4 separate regions of the Homo sapiens genome follow, and regions 2, 3 and 4 are each linked to region 1. Evidence: promoter capture Hi-C in 16 types of primary human blood cells and fetal thymus (Javierre and others, 2016). All regions are on one chromosome and are shown on one strand. Each heading gives the region's core, a stretch centred on a gene start or on the middle of the fragment in contact. The rest is flanking DNA. Distances are from core to core; before and after follow the strand shown.

Region 1 (2,981 bases), core at 241-2,740:
TCCCTAAGTTAATGAGTTGTAGGATGGGGCTGAGCAGTCAATCAGTTACTGGTCCGTTCAGCAAACAGGTCAGCCTGCCATATAATGCAGTAAAGGGAGCTTGCTGGAGGCCCTTAACTGTGGTGGAGGATGTGAGAAAGCCCTGCCCAGTTTTGGACCCAGTTGCTGCATGGCCTTATCTTGTTCCCTAAAGAGTGGCCCTCAGGGCCAGCTGAGTTAGAAGGGTGGAGTGACTACAATTATCTCATGCCTCAGTCTCTGTATTCCAGGGCAACTCCTTATCCATCCAGGCCTCTTTTTCAACAGAAACAGACCAGACTCTTAGCCCATATCTGCTCCCTTCTGCAGGGAGTATCAGAGATGCCCTCCCTACCATGGTCTTTCCTCCAAATCTGAGCCCTCCCCTACCTCAGCCCATATGAAAAAACGATGTAGGATTCTTCCTTCTCAATCTGATCCACAGGCCAACTTCTCAAGTGCACAACTTCTAACTCATTTAAAGCTCCAGGCCAGCTACCTTCCCTCACCTTTGGAAATTACGTCCACCTACCCATGTGATGTCGCCCAAAATCCAACCCAGGATCTTCTGTCTGAAACCCGCTCCTTAAGCTGATATCTCTAATTCCATTCTTTCAGATTTTTCAGGCCAAAACAAAACCTATGGAAGACACCATTCACTACCGACTTTCCCTCACAGCTATGTTTGATGCAGCAGGAAATCCTGTTGACCCTATCTCTGAGATCCATCCAGAGTCTCATCACATCTCCCCTCTACTGCAACCCCTCTGGCCCAGCCCTACCATAACTCAAGGGGTCTCCTCAGCGGTCCCCCTGCCCCCGTTCAACATCCTGTTTTCCCCAACTTTAAACTTCTAACTCTGGGCGTGACCCTCCCATTCGTCCTCCCTGCACAGCCCTCTATGGCTCTCTGCGGCTCCACTGCCCTTCCAGGGGAGACTCCGCCTCAACCTCTGCTCCTTGGAGACAAAGACGCTCGGGCTCCCCAGTGCCGCCCGTTCTGCAGTGCCTCCAAGCCCCAGAGACGTGTCGGTCTCCGACGGGAGCTCCCCCGCCTCATCGCACCGCAGTCCCAGTCCCGGGCACCCCACACAAGAACGCCCCTCTCTTAGAGACACAAGGGCCTAACCTGCAGGGCGGCTCCTTGGGACTTCAGCACTGGGAGGAGGGGTTGGGCGGGGCGGCCTGGGACGCTGCACGCACCTCGGTCAGGTTCATCGGCGCGGCCTCCTCCAGTCCACCCAGGGAAGAGCGGGGCGGGAACGGCGGTCACCTGGACGCTGACGGAGGCAGGGGCGCCTGCAGCCGACTCAGCCGATCCGCACTCTAGCCTCTGTGTAGAAGGAACACCGCTTCTCGCGTTTTTCCGCTCTTTCACCTCAGTCCCGACCCAGAGCTCTGGGACCCTCTAAATCAGTGAACAGATCCCTAGGTAGCCATGCTAACGCAACCATGAGGGCGCCGCCAGAAGTCCCGCCCACACAATTGAGACCTCATTAGTCGTCTCTCTGCTAGACCAATGGCTACACTCGCTGCCCTGCCCCCGCAGTGTCTTCTGGGTAATGTAGTTCTCACGTTGCTGCCTGTGTCGCCCGCAGTGTCTTCTGGGTAATGTAGTTCCCACGCTGCTGCCTGCCTCGCCTCACAATGCTGGGCGCGCGGACCTTACGGAAAAAAGCTGGAGGCTCCTGGAGGAGCGTTAAGAAATGCAGTTCCGGGGCTCTTAAGGACGTGGAGGGGCTTTGCTGACTCCTAAACTGCAAGTAACCAGATTTTCCCGGAGAGCAGTCTAGGACAAGTCTGAGAAATATTTCAGAGACCTGTCGTTTCAGATTCTCTGAAGCACAGCAAGTCCCGAAAGGAAGAACATCAGAAGCGACATGGCTGACCATAATGAACTGGTCCTCCATTCATAGCGGTCAGCTCTTTTGTGCTTGTCAAGTACACACATACTGAGGCTCTGGAGACTTTTTTTTGATCGTTAGTGTGCTTCTGTTGGGACAAGAAAGAAAAGACCCACACAGGATGTGATGGAGAGTTGAAGGAGGAATATCTTTCTGTCGACGAAAAGGGTGGAACTTTGTGAAATAGTTGAAGAGATTTATTCTGAGACAAATATGAGTGACTAATGGCCCATGACACGGCTCCAAGATATCCTAAGAACATATGCCCAGGGTGGCCCATCTACAGCTTGGTTTTAACAATTTAGGAAGACGTAAGACATCAATCAATACATGTAAAATGTACATTGGATTCCTCTGGAAAGGCGCAACTGGAAGGGAGGGGCGGGGCTTCCAGGTCAGGTGGGTTCAAAGATTTTCCGATTGGCAATTGGTTGAAAGAGTTTGTATCTAAAGACCTGGAATCAGTAGAAATGGTTGTCTGGGTTAAGGGGTTGTGGGCCGGGCGTGGTATCTCACGCCTGTAATCCCAGCACTTTGGGAGGCCGAGGTGGGCGGATCACCTGAGGTTGGGAGTTCGAGACCAGCCTGACCAACATGTAGAAACCCCATCTCTACTAAAAATACAAAATTAGACGGGCATGGTGGCACATGCCTGTAATGCCAGCTACTCGGGAGGCTGAGGCAGGAGAATCGCTTGAACCCGGGAGGCGGAGGTTACGGTGAGCCGAGATCTCGCCATTGTACTCCAGCCCGTGCAACAAGAGCGAAACTCCGTCTCAAAAACAAAAAAAGACAAGGGGTTGTGAAGACCAAGGTTATATCATGCAGATGAAGCCTCCAGGTAGTCTTATAAGGCCTTATGATAAGGCCTCAGCTCCTGAGCTAAAGCTATCTTCCCACCTCAGCCTCTAGAGCAGCTGGGACTGTAGGTACAGGACACCGTCCCTGGCTTTATTCAGCTTTTTACAATGCACTACAAAAAGTCGGCATTTAGAGCTATTTTTCTCTCACTGCAATTGAGTAGCAGTGAGAGAAAAATTGAGTAGCAATAGTATTGCC
Region 2 (2,981 bases), core at 351-2,850, 690 kb before region 1:
AGCCTTGGAGACTGCTTTGTACATGATCCAGTTTTTTTTTTTTTTTTTTTTTGAGACGGAGTCTTGCTCTGTGGCCCAGGCTGGAGTGCAGTGGCACGATCTTGGCTCACTGCAAGCTCCGCCTCCCGGGTTCGCGCCATTCTCCTGCCTCAGCCTCCCGAGTAGCTGGGACTACAGGCGCCCGCCACCACGCCTGGCTAATTGTTTGTATTTTTTTAGTAGAGACGGGGTTTCACCACGTTAGCCAGGATGGTCTCAATCTCCTGACCTTGTGATCTGCCCACCTCGGCCTCCCAAAGTGCTGGGATTACAGGCGTGACCACCGCGCCTGGCCGACATGATCCAGTTTTTATAACAACCATGCAGGGCAGTCTTTGACAGTTTTTGTTTTGTTTTGTTTTTTGAGATGGAGTCTCACTCTGCCGCGTAGGCTGGAGTGCAGTGGTGTGATCTCAGCTCACTGCAACCTCTGCCTACCAGGTTGAAGTGATTCTCCTGCCTCAGCCTCCAGAGTAGCTGGGACTACAGGCATGTGCCACCACGCCTGGCTGATTTTTTTTGTATTTTTAGTAGAGACGGTGTTTCACCATGTTGGTCAGGCTGGTCTTGAACTCCTGACTTCAAATGATCCACCTGCCTCCACTTCCCAAAGTGCTGGGATTACAGGAGTGAACCACTGTGCCCCGCCAGGTCATTGACAGTTCTAAGACTTAGACCCAGAACTTTTAGGTCACCAAGCCTGTGCTTTGTCCTATCCATGAATGCAGAACTTTGATGACAGAGCTGGGGTGAGAACTGTTCCTTCAGTGCTGTTGTAAGCTCATTGTGAAGTCAGAGCTTTGGAAATGTGTACTGATGGGCAGTGTGTGACAGGGACAAGAATGCAGTGGCTGGGATGGAATTCTAGGGGGAGCAGGGATGCTTGGCCTCTGGTCTCTCACATCTCAAACTAATCCTTTTGGTGATGATTTATCCCGAGGTCCATTCCTCCTGCCTGCTCTCTAGGAAGATGAAAATGCTACATGGCTCTTTTTGAATCTGTTCTTGGTTCCATTCCTTGGCTACGATTTTACCTCTTCCTTGTATAAATTTGAATTTAAAAGAGAAAACAAGTAAAAAAATACACATCTTTACACCTAGCCCATCATCATTGTCTGTTTCTCTTACAGATAAAGCTTCATATACCTAAGTCTGCATTTTTCTTCTTTTTGCAGTTTGGGATATGAGATTGAAAATGACGACTCGGAATTTTCCTGAGAGAGAAGTACCCTGTGATGTAGAAGTGGAAAGATTCACAAGGGAAGTTCCCTGCTTGTCCAGTTTAGGTGATGGTTGGGACTGTGAGAACCAGGAGGGACACTTGAGGCAATCAGCTTTAACTCTGGAGAAACCAGGGACTCAGGAAGCAATTTGTGAATATCCTGGTTTTGGGGAGCATTTGATTGCAAGCTCAGACCTTCCACCGTCTCAGAGAGTTCTGGCAACAAATGGTTTCCATGCACCTGACTCAAATGTTAGTGGTCTGGATTGTGACCCCGCCTTACCCAGCTATCCTAAAAGTTATGCAGATAAGAGAACTGGTGACAGTGATGCCTGTGGAAAAGGCTTCAACCATTCCATGGAAGTTATTCATGGAAGAAATCCAGTGAGAGAGAAGCCCTACAAATACCCTGAAAGTGTTAAGTCTTTTAATCATTTTACCTCTCTTGGTCATCAGAAAATAATGAAAAGAGGCAAGAAATCGTATGAAGGTAAGAATTTTGAGAACATCTTTACTCTGAGCTCATCGCTTAATGAAAACCAGAGAAATCTCCCTGGAGAGAAACAATATAGATGTACTGAATGTGGCAAATGCTTCAAACGGAACTCTTCTCTTGTTTTGCATCACCGAACTCACACCGGAGAGAAGCCTTATACTTGTAATGAGTGTGGAAAGTCCTTCTCCAAGAACTACAACCTGATTGTGCATCAAAGAATCCACACAGGAGAGAAGCCCTATGAATGCAGTAAATGTGGGAAAGCTTTCAGTGATGGCTCAGCTCTGACACAGCACCAGAGAATTCACACAGGCGAGAAACCTTATGAATGCCTAGAGTGTGGAAAAACCTTCAACCGAAATTCATCCTTAATTTTGCACCAAAGAACTCATACAGGGGAAAAACCATATAGATGTAACGAATGTGGGAAACCCTTCACTGACATCTCCCACCTTACAGTGCATCTCAGAATCCACACCGGTGAGAAGCCCTATGAGTGTAGCAAATGTGGAAAGGCTTTCCGGGACGGCTCGTACCTCACCCAGCATGAGAGGACTCACACTGGAGAAAAGCCCTTTGAGTGTGCAGAGTGCGGGAAATCCTTCAACAGAAACTCTCACCTCATTGTGCATCAAAAGATCCATTCTGGGGAGAAACCCTATGAATGTAAAGAATGTGGCAAGACTTTCATCGAGAGTGCGTACCTCATCAGGCATCAGAGGATTCATACTGGCGAGAAGCCCTATGGCTGCAACCAGTGTCAGAAACTTTTCAGGAATATCGCTGGCCTCATTAGGCACCAGAGGACTCATACTGGTGAGAAGCCCTATGAGTGTAATCAGTGTGGCAAAGCCTTCAGGGACAGCTCCTGTCTGACCAAGCACCAGAGAATTCACACTAAGGAGACCCCATATCAGTGTCCAGAATGTGGGAAGTCCTTCAAGCAGAACTCTCACCTGGCAGTACATCAGAGACTCCATAGCAGGGAGGGTCCCAGCCGGTGTCCTCAGTGTGGAAAAATGTTCCAAAAGAGCTCATCCCTTGTTCGACATCAAAGAGCACACCTGGGAGAGCAACCCATGGAAACATAATGGTTGGGGGCCACATGAGTCTTCCAGTTCACTCTCACTCCTGTGTTTAGGAGGCGTGTCTTAGATCTGACTCCTCTCTGGTCAGTAGAAAAGAATCCTTTAAGCTATCCAGTGAATTGATGAATGTGAGACA
Region 3 (2,981 bases), core at 279-2,778, 670 kb before region 1:
ATCAGCCAGGGTGGACAACCTAGCCACCTTGATGAAGATCTAACAAGGAGATGAGCCTTCAAAATGTAACGAAGGTGGTAACTCCTTCAGCCTTTCTACACACCTTAGTGAACAACATGTAATTGCCAGAGAAAGGAACAACACAAAGGAGAAGGACACGAGGAGGTGTTTGATAGGGACACATGTCCTTATGAACACAATGGAAGTATCTCTGGAAATGAATACAATGACAGTGAATGTGGACTGTCCGTTAGACCGAAATCTCATTTCATCAGTCACCAGAGGACTCATACTGGAGAGAGCCCTTATACCTGTAATGACTGTGGAAAATCCCTCTCTAAGAATTACAACCTGATTGTACATCAAAAAATCCACACAGGAGAGAAATCCTATAAATGCAAGAAGTGGGAAAGCCTTCAGTGCTGGCTCCACCTTTACCAAGCATGAGAAAACCCACATAGGAAAGAAGCCCTGTGAAAGGAATTGGTATGGGAAGACCTTCAGCTGCCACTCTTCCCTTGTTTTGCATTTCAGAAGTCATACTGTGGAAAAACTATTCGAATGTAATGAATGTGAAAAATCCTTTTCTGATGTCTCCAACCTTATTGTCCATCTGAGAATTCACATGTGAGGGGAGCCCTATGTATGTACTGGGTGTAGAAAGGCCTTCATTGATCACACATAACTTATTAAACATGGGAGAATTCACATTGGAAAGAGACCCTATATGTGTATGGAGTGTGAAAAATTCTCCAACCACAACAGTCAGCTCTTTTGCATCAAAAAAATCATTCTGGAAAGAAATCTCATGAGTTAAACAATGTGAAAAAATCTTTCACTGAGATTATGTACCTCATCAGGCACAAGAGGATTCATACTGGTGAGAAGGTCTGTGGCTGTAACCAGTGTCAAACTTTTCAGGAACATCGCGGGCCTCATCTGGCACCAGAGGACTCATACTGGTGAGAAGCCCTACGAGTGTAATCGGTGTGGCAAAGCCTTCAGGGACAGCTCCTGTCTGACCAAGCACAAGAAGGTACATGCTCAGGCGACCTTGTGCCAGTGTGTCTAGTGTGGGAAAGTTTTCCCAAGTATCTGTGCTCTCGCTAGAAACCAGAGTTGACACATTGGACTGAGACCTATGGGGATTCAGTGAGCATCTGTGGCAGTGACTGATCTGATTTTCTTTGCCTCCTCTTTGTCAGAGACTTCATGTTGAAGAGTTTATGTTGTTTGAAAGTAACAAATATGTTTTTCCATCTATAAATGGAAGAAAAAATCCTGGATGACAGCACATGTGTTTACCGCATGGTGCACTCAATATTTTATTTTATTTTTGAGACAGAGTTTCACTCTTGTCACCCAGGCTGCAGTGCAGTAGTGTGATCTCAGCTCCCTGCAGCCTCTGCCTCTTGGGTTCAAGCGATTCTCCTTCCTCAAACTCCTGAGCAAGTAGCTGGGATTACAGGTACCCACCATCACACTAATTGTTTTGTATTTTTTTTAGTAGAGATAGGGTTTCACCATGTTGGTCAGGCTGGTCTTGAACTCCTGACCTGAAGTGATCTGCCCACCTTGGCCTCCCAAAAGTGATGAGATTACAGGCATGAGCCACCATGCCCGGCCTGTGCTGAATATTTTAAACCCACTGTTGAGACTTCCTCAGAATAAAGATTCCTTTCAAAATATGGCTGCTTGTTGACAAGAGCTGTGATGAAGATGTACAGGGAGATGAATGTTGTTCTCACACCTGCTAACACAACATGTATTCTGCAGCCCATCATAGATCAGGAGTAATTTTGACTTTCCAGTCTCATTATTCAAGAACAGATGTCTTGGCCAGGCACGGTGGCTCACGCCTGTAATCCCAGCACTTTGGGAGGCCAAGGTGGGCAGATCACGAGGTCAGGATTTCGAGACAAGCCTGACCAACATGCTGAAACCTCATCTCTACTAAAAATACAAAAAAAAATTAGCCAGGCGTGATGGTGCACACCTGTAATCCCAGCTACTCAGGAGACTGAGGCAGGAGAATTGCCTGAAGCTGGGAGGCAGAGGTTGCAGTGAGCAGAGATCGAGCCACTGCACTGCAGCCTGGGAAACAGAAGGAGGCTCCATTTCAAAAAAAAACAAAAAAACAAAAAAAACAGATGTCTTTTTTTCTTTCTTTCTTTTTTTTTTTTTTTTTTTTTTTTTGAGACGGAGTCTCGCTCTGTCGCCCAGGCTGGAGTGCAGTGGCGGGATCTCGGCTCACTGCAAGCTCCGCCTCCCGGGTTCACGCCATTCTCCTGCCTCAGCCTCCCAAGTAGCTGGGACTACAGGCGCCCGCCACTACGCCCGGCTAATTTTTTTTGTATTTTTAGTAGAGACGGGGTTTCACCGTTTTAGCCGGGATGGTCTCGATCTCCTGACCTCGTGATCCGCCCGCCTCGGCCTCCCAAAGTGCTGGGATTACAGGCGTGAGCCACCGCGCCCAGCCAGATGTCTTTTTTTCTTTTGAGACATGGTCTCATTCTGTTGCCCAGGTTGGAGTGCAGTGCTGCAACCATGGCTCGCTGCAGCCTCGACCTCTAGGCTCAAGTTGTCCTCTCACCTTAGCCTCCTACATAGCTGGAACTACCAGCATGCACCACCACGCCTGGCTAATTTTTTTTATGTTTTGTAGAGACGGCATCTCACCATATTGCTCAAGCTGGTCTTGAACTCCTGTGCCGAAGTGATCCTCTTGCCTCATCCTGACAAAGTGCTAGTATTACAGGTGTGAGCCATTGTGCCTGGCCTAGAATGCTCTTAATGGCATCTAGCATAGTGAATCATTTCCAGAAGGTTTTTAATTTACTTTCCCTGGATCCATCCAAGGAATCATTACTATCTATGGCAGCTATAGCCTTACAAAATACATACCTTTTTTTTTCTTTTTTGATAAGGATTCTCACTCTGTTGCCTCGGCTAGAGTGCAGTGGCGCGATCTCAGCTCACTG
Region 4 (2,981 bases), core at 137-2,636, 510 kb before region 1:
TCTACTAAAAATACAAATACAAAAAAAAAAAAAAAAAAAAAAGATTAGCCGGGTACGGTGGCGGGCGCCTGTAATTCCAGCTACTTGGGAAGCTGAGGCAGGAGAATCGCTTGAACCCGGGAGACAGAGGTTGTGGTGAGCCGAGATCGCACCATTGCACTCCAGCCTGGGCAACAAGAGCGTAACTAATGGGGGCAAAGATAATCATTTCAGCGTTGAGAAGAGATCTTGAATTTAAGATACACCCTACATTTGGGATTCAGAGCACCCTTTGTTCCACCTGTTAATGCTCTAGCTAGCCATCATGCCTTTTCAAAATACCATTCCTTTTGTTGTTCTCTTTCTGAGCTTGATGTCAAATTATTAAAAAGAAGTGAATATAAAGGCATGGAGAAAGTGAGATTAGATTCATGCAAGTGTTGCTTAGTGAATTGGACACAATGTTTGACTACACAGGCACGAGAGGGACCCAGAGACAGGGATCTACTTATGTCCTGCTGCTGCAGGGTGCCTCCGCATCCCACCTTCATCCTCTTTGTCATGAACCTGTGTGGAGTGTTTTTTTTCTTGTCCCTAATCAAACATACAGAGACTGAGAAAACTGACTCCAGTGCTTGAGTGCATGCGTTTGAATTGCAACATAGTCTTTTTTTTTTTTTTTTTTTTTTTTTTTTTTTGAGACAGTGGCTCGCTCTTTCCCCCAGGCTGGAGTGCAGTGGCGCGATCTCGGCTCACTGCAAGCTCTGCCTCCCGGGTTCAAGCTATTTTCCTGCCTCAGCCTCCGGAGTAGCTGGGGACTACAGGCGCCCGCCACCACACCCAGCTAATTTTTCTTTTTTTTTTTTTTTTTGTGGTATTTTTTGTATTTTAGAGACGGGGTTTCGCTGAGTTAGCCAGGATGGTCTCGATCTCCTGACCTCGTGATCCGCCCGCCTCGACCTCCCAAAGTGCTGGAATTACAGGCGTGAGCCACCGCGCCCGGCCGCAACATAGTCATATTTATTTGCTTTCTCAACCAGTGGATATATTTTGTGACTGACTGACTGTATGTAATAATATGTGCATCTGGATATGTGCCTCTGGGAACACATGAAATGACACGTCTCCAAACAAACACTGGCAGACAGCAATCGGTAGAAACCTGGGTACGTCTCCTTTAAGAAAGAACGAAGCCTCGCCTCCGCCCCAACCTGGAGTGTCCATTTCCCAGCGCCCCCTACAGGGGTTTGGCCTTTACTTCCGGAAGGAGGTGGAGGCGACCCTCACTCTCCCGCCGTGCGCCTGTGGGAACATTACCCAGAATGGCCTGCGTTGGGCGACGGCGACCTTCAGCCAATGAGGCCTCCGAAAGGTGGTGTTTCCGTAAGCGCACGCGCGGTCGCGGCGGGACTTCCGTTGTCCTCCTTGTGGCGGTCGTTTTGGCATTTGTCTGGACTGATTACTTGGTAGAAAGCCCCGGAGCGCTGGGTCAGCATCATCCGTGACTGACTGAGAAGGCGCGAGAGGAGTCTTCCCCGCTGCACAGAGGCGTGGCTGAGGCTCGGCGGCGCCCAGGGTACCCAGGCCCGGCCCGGAATAAGGACATCCTCTCTGGCCCCGCTCCGCTCACAGAGTCAGATGGCGGCGGCCGAGCTGACGGCCCCGGCCCAGGTATGTGCCGCGTCCTCTGGGCCTTCCCCGCCCTCCCCACGCTAGTCCTAGCACCCCCGAGGGCGCTTGCTCGCGGCCCTGCTGCCCAGGACAGGACACGGGGGCTCGCCGGAGGGGCTCCCGTTTCCAACACCTGGTGTGCTAGGGAAGGGAGGGCGCGACTGGCAAGGAGCCCCTGATGAGAGGCGCCACTGAGCCCTGGGGCACAGAGGTGACACAGCCATTGCGAGGGCACCCGGCTCCAAGGCCAGGCATGGGGCTACGGGGTGGCTTGAGCCCATCTAATACCGCCATAGATGCTCTTCTCTGAGGCCTGGCTCTTTCTACGTTTCCCTTGGCTGTAAAGGGTTATGAAATCTACGCCAGGAAGGGGAGGGTTTCCCAGTCTCTCACTAGCCCTAACTCCCACCCACAGGTTCTCTGGGTTGTGGAGTGCCATTCCCCCAGCCCTTAGTTCTGAAGACCTTGGGTGAACCCCAAGCCCAGGGTCCTATGTCCATGTTAGCCGGTATATAGAGTTGTTCCAATTTCTGGCAGCCATGTGAACGGGTGTGGAAAGTTTTTCCAGAAAGGTACAAGATGTGCAAATGCTTAGGTGCAGTACGGAGCTGGGTGCATTTATGAAGCCACAAGTCTCCTTGCTTTCTGGTGGGAAGCAAAGAACAGGAGGATAGGCGTCAGGACTGCAGTGGCTGCCTGAGAAGTTGAGTGTGTTTTCAGGAGGTAATAGCAAGTTTGAATCAGAAAAAAGAGGTAATTTACCAAGGTCTTCACAGGCTTCATCTGTGTGCACAGTGGGGCACAAACTGGGGGGTTGAGGGAGGAGGAAGGAAAATCAGGGTAGACTAGTCCAAGTGAGGGTTACTGGCCCAGGATCGTGATTTAGGAGATGTGGTTAGATTCCGGATGTGTGGTTTCAAAAGGGACAACTAAATTACATAATGTAGGTGGTGAGGGAGTGAAACAGAGGGTTCAGAGAAGACTCCAGGGTTTTTGGTATTAGCAGCTGTAGGGAAAGAAGTTTCATCAACTAAGATGAACAAATTGGCAATAGGAGTAATATTCACTAGGGATATCAGGTTTGTTTATGCCATGCTAAGAGTCAGATCTTTCAGAGCCTACTAAATGGAGGCGTTAAGTGGGCAGATGAACGTGCCGGTCTTGAAATCTAGGGAGTGGTTCAGGGTGCAGATATTCAAGATGTGGCTGTTGTGCGCACCAAGGTTAGTGAGCTGTGGGTCACAGTTAGGCGGGGCAAGCTCCAGGTTTTGGTTGTAAAGCTGTTAGTGGGCCAAGACTGGGAGGATGATGATAGAGTAAGTGGTCATGAA

What was found. The method cuts DNA at HindIII sites, captures the fragments that hold promoters and counts their contacts. A CHiCAGO score of 5 or more calls a contact.
Region 2: a fragment that was not itself captured here is called in contact with the fragment with the promoter of ZNF749 in region 1 in 4 of 17 cell types (total CD8 T cells, non-activated CD4 T cells, naive CD4 T cells and 1 more); the score reaches 9.9 in total CD8 T cells.
Region 3: a fragment that was not itself captured here is called in contact with the fragment with the promoter of ZNF749 in region 1 in 1 of 17 cell types (non-activated CD4 T cells); the score reaches 5.7 in non-activated CD4 T cells.
Region 4: a contact is called between the fragment with the promoter of ZNF256 here and the fragment with the promoter of ZNF749 in region 1, in 6 of 17 cell types (naive B cells, naive CD8 T cells, naive CD4 T cells and 3 more). The highest score is 8.0, in naive B cells.

Annotation. Positions count from the first base shown.
Region 1 is chr19:57,433,834-57,436,814 of GRCh38, reverse strand. ZNF749 (zinc finger protein 749) reads right to left here and starts at 1,490. Exons shown (of 3, transcript NM_001023561.4): 1 at 1,222-1,490. The coding sequence starts at 1,236. RefSeq lists enhancers at 926-975, 1,606-1,905. The HindIII fragment of the contact is 4,352 bases long and covers 1-2,981 here.
Region 2 is chr19:58,127,745-58,130,725 of GRCh38, reverse strand. It overlaps ZNF329 (zinc finger protein 329), which reads left to right. Exons shown (of 4, transcript NM_024620.4): 4 at 1,215-2,981. The coding sequence starts at 1,223. The coding sequence ends at 2,848. Among named protein-coding and RNA genes, the nearest start is that of ZNF329, 22 kb to the left of the region's middle. The HindIII fragment of the contact is 846 bases long and covers 1,178-2,023 here.
Region 3 is chr19:58,105,919-58,108,899 of GRCh38, reverse strand. It overlaps a transcript of ZSCAN18 not described here. Among named protein-coding and RNA genes, the nearest start is that of ZSCAN18, 9.2 kb to the right of the region's middle. The HindIII fragment of the contact is 4,764 bases long and covers 1-2,981 here.
Region 4 is chr19:57,946,111-57,949,091 of GRCh38, reverse strand. It overlaps ZNF256 (zinc finger protein 256), which reads left to right and starts at 1,386. Exons shown (of 3, transcript NM_005773.3): 1 at 1,386-1,650. The coding sequence starts at 1,618. RefSeq lists enhancers at 1,148-1,237, 1,308-1,407, 1,898-1,977. The HindIII fragment of the contact is 12,388 bases long and covers 1-2,981 here.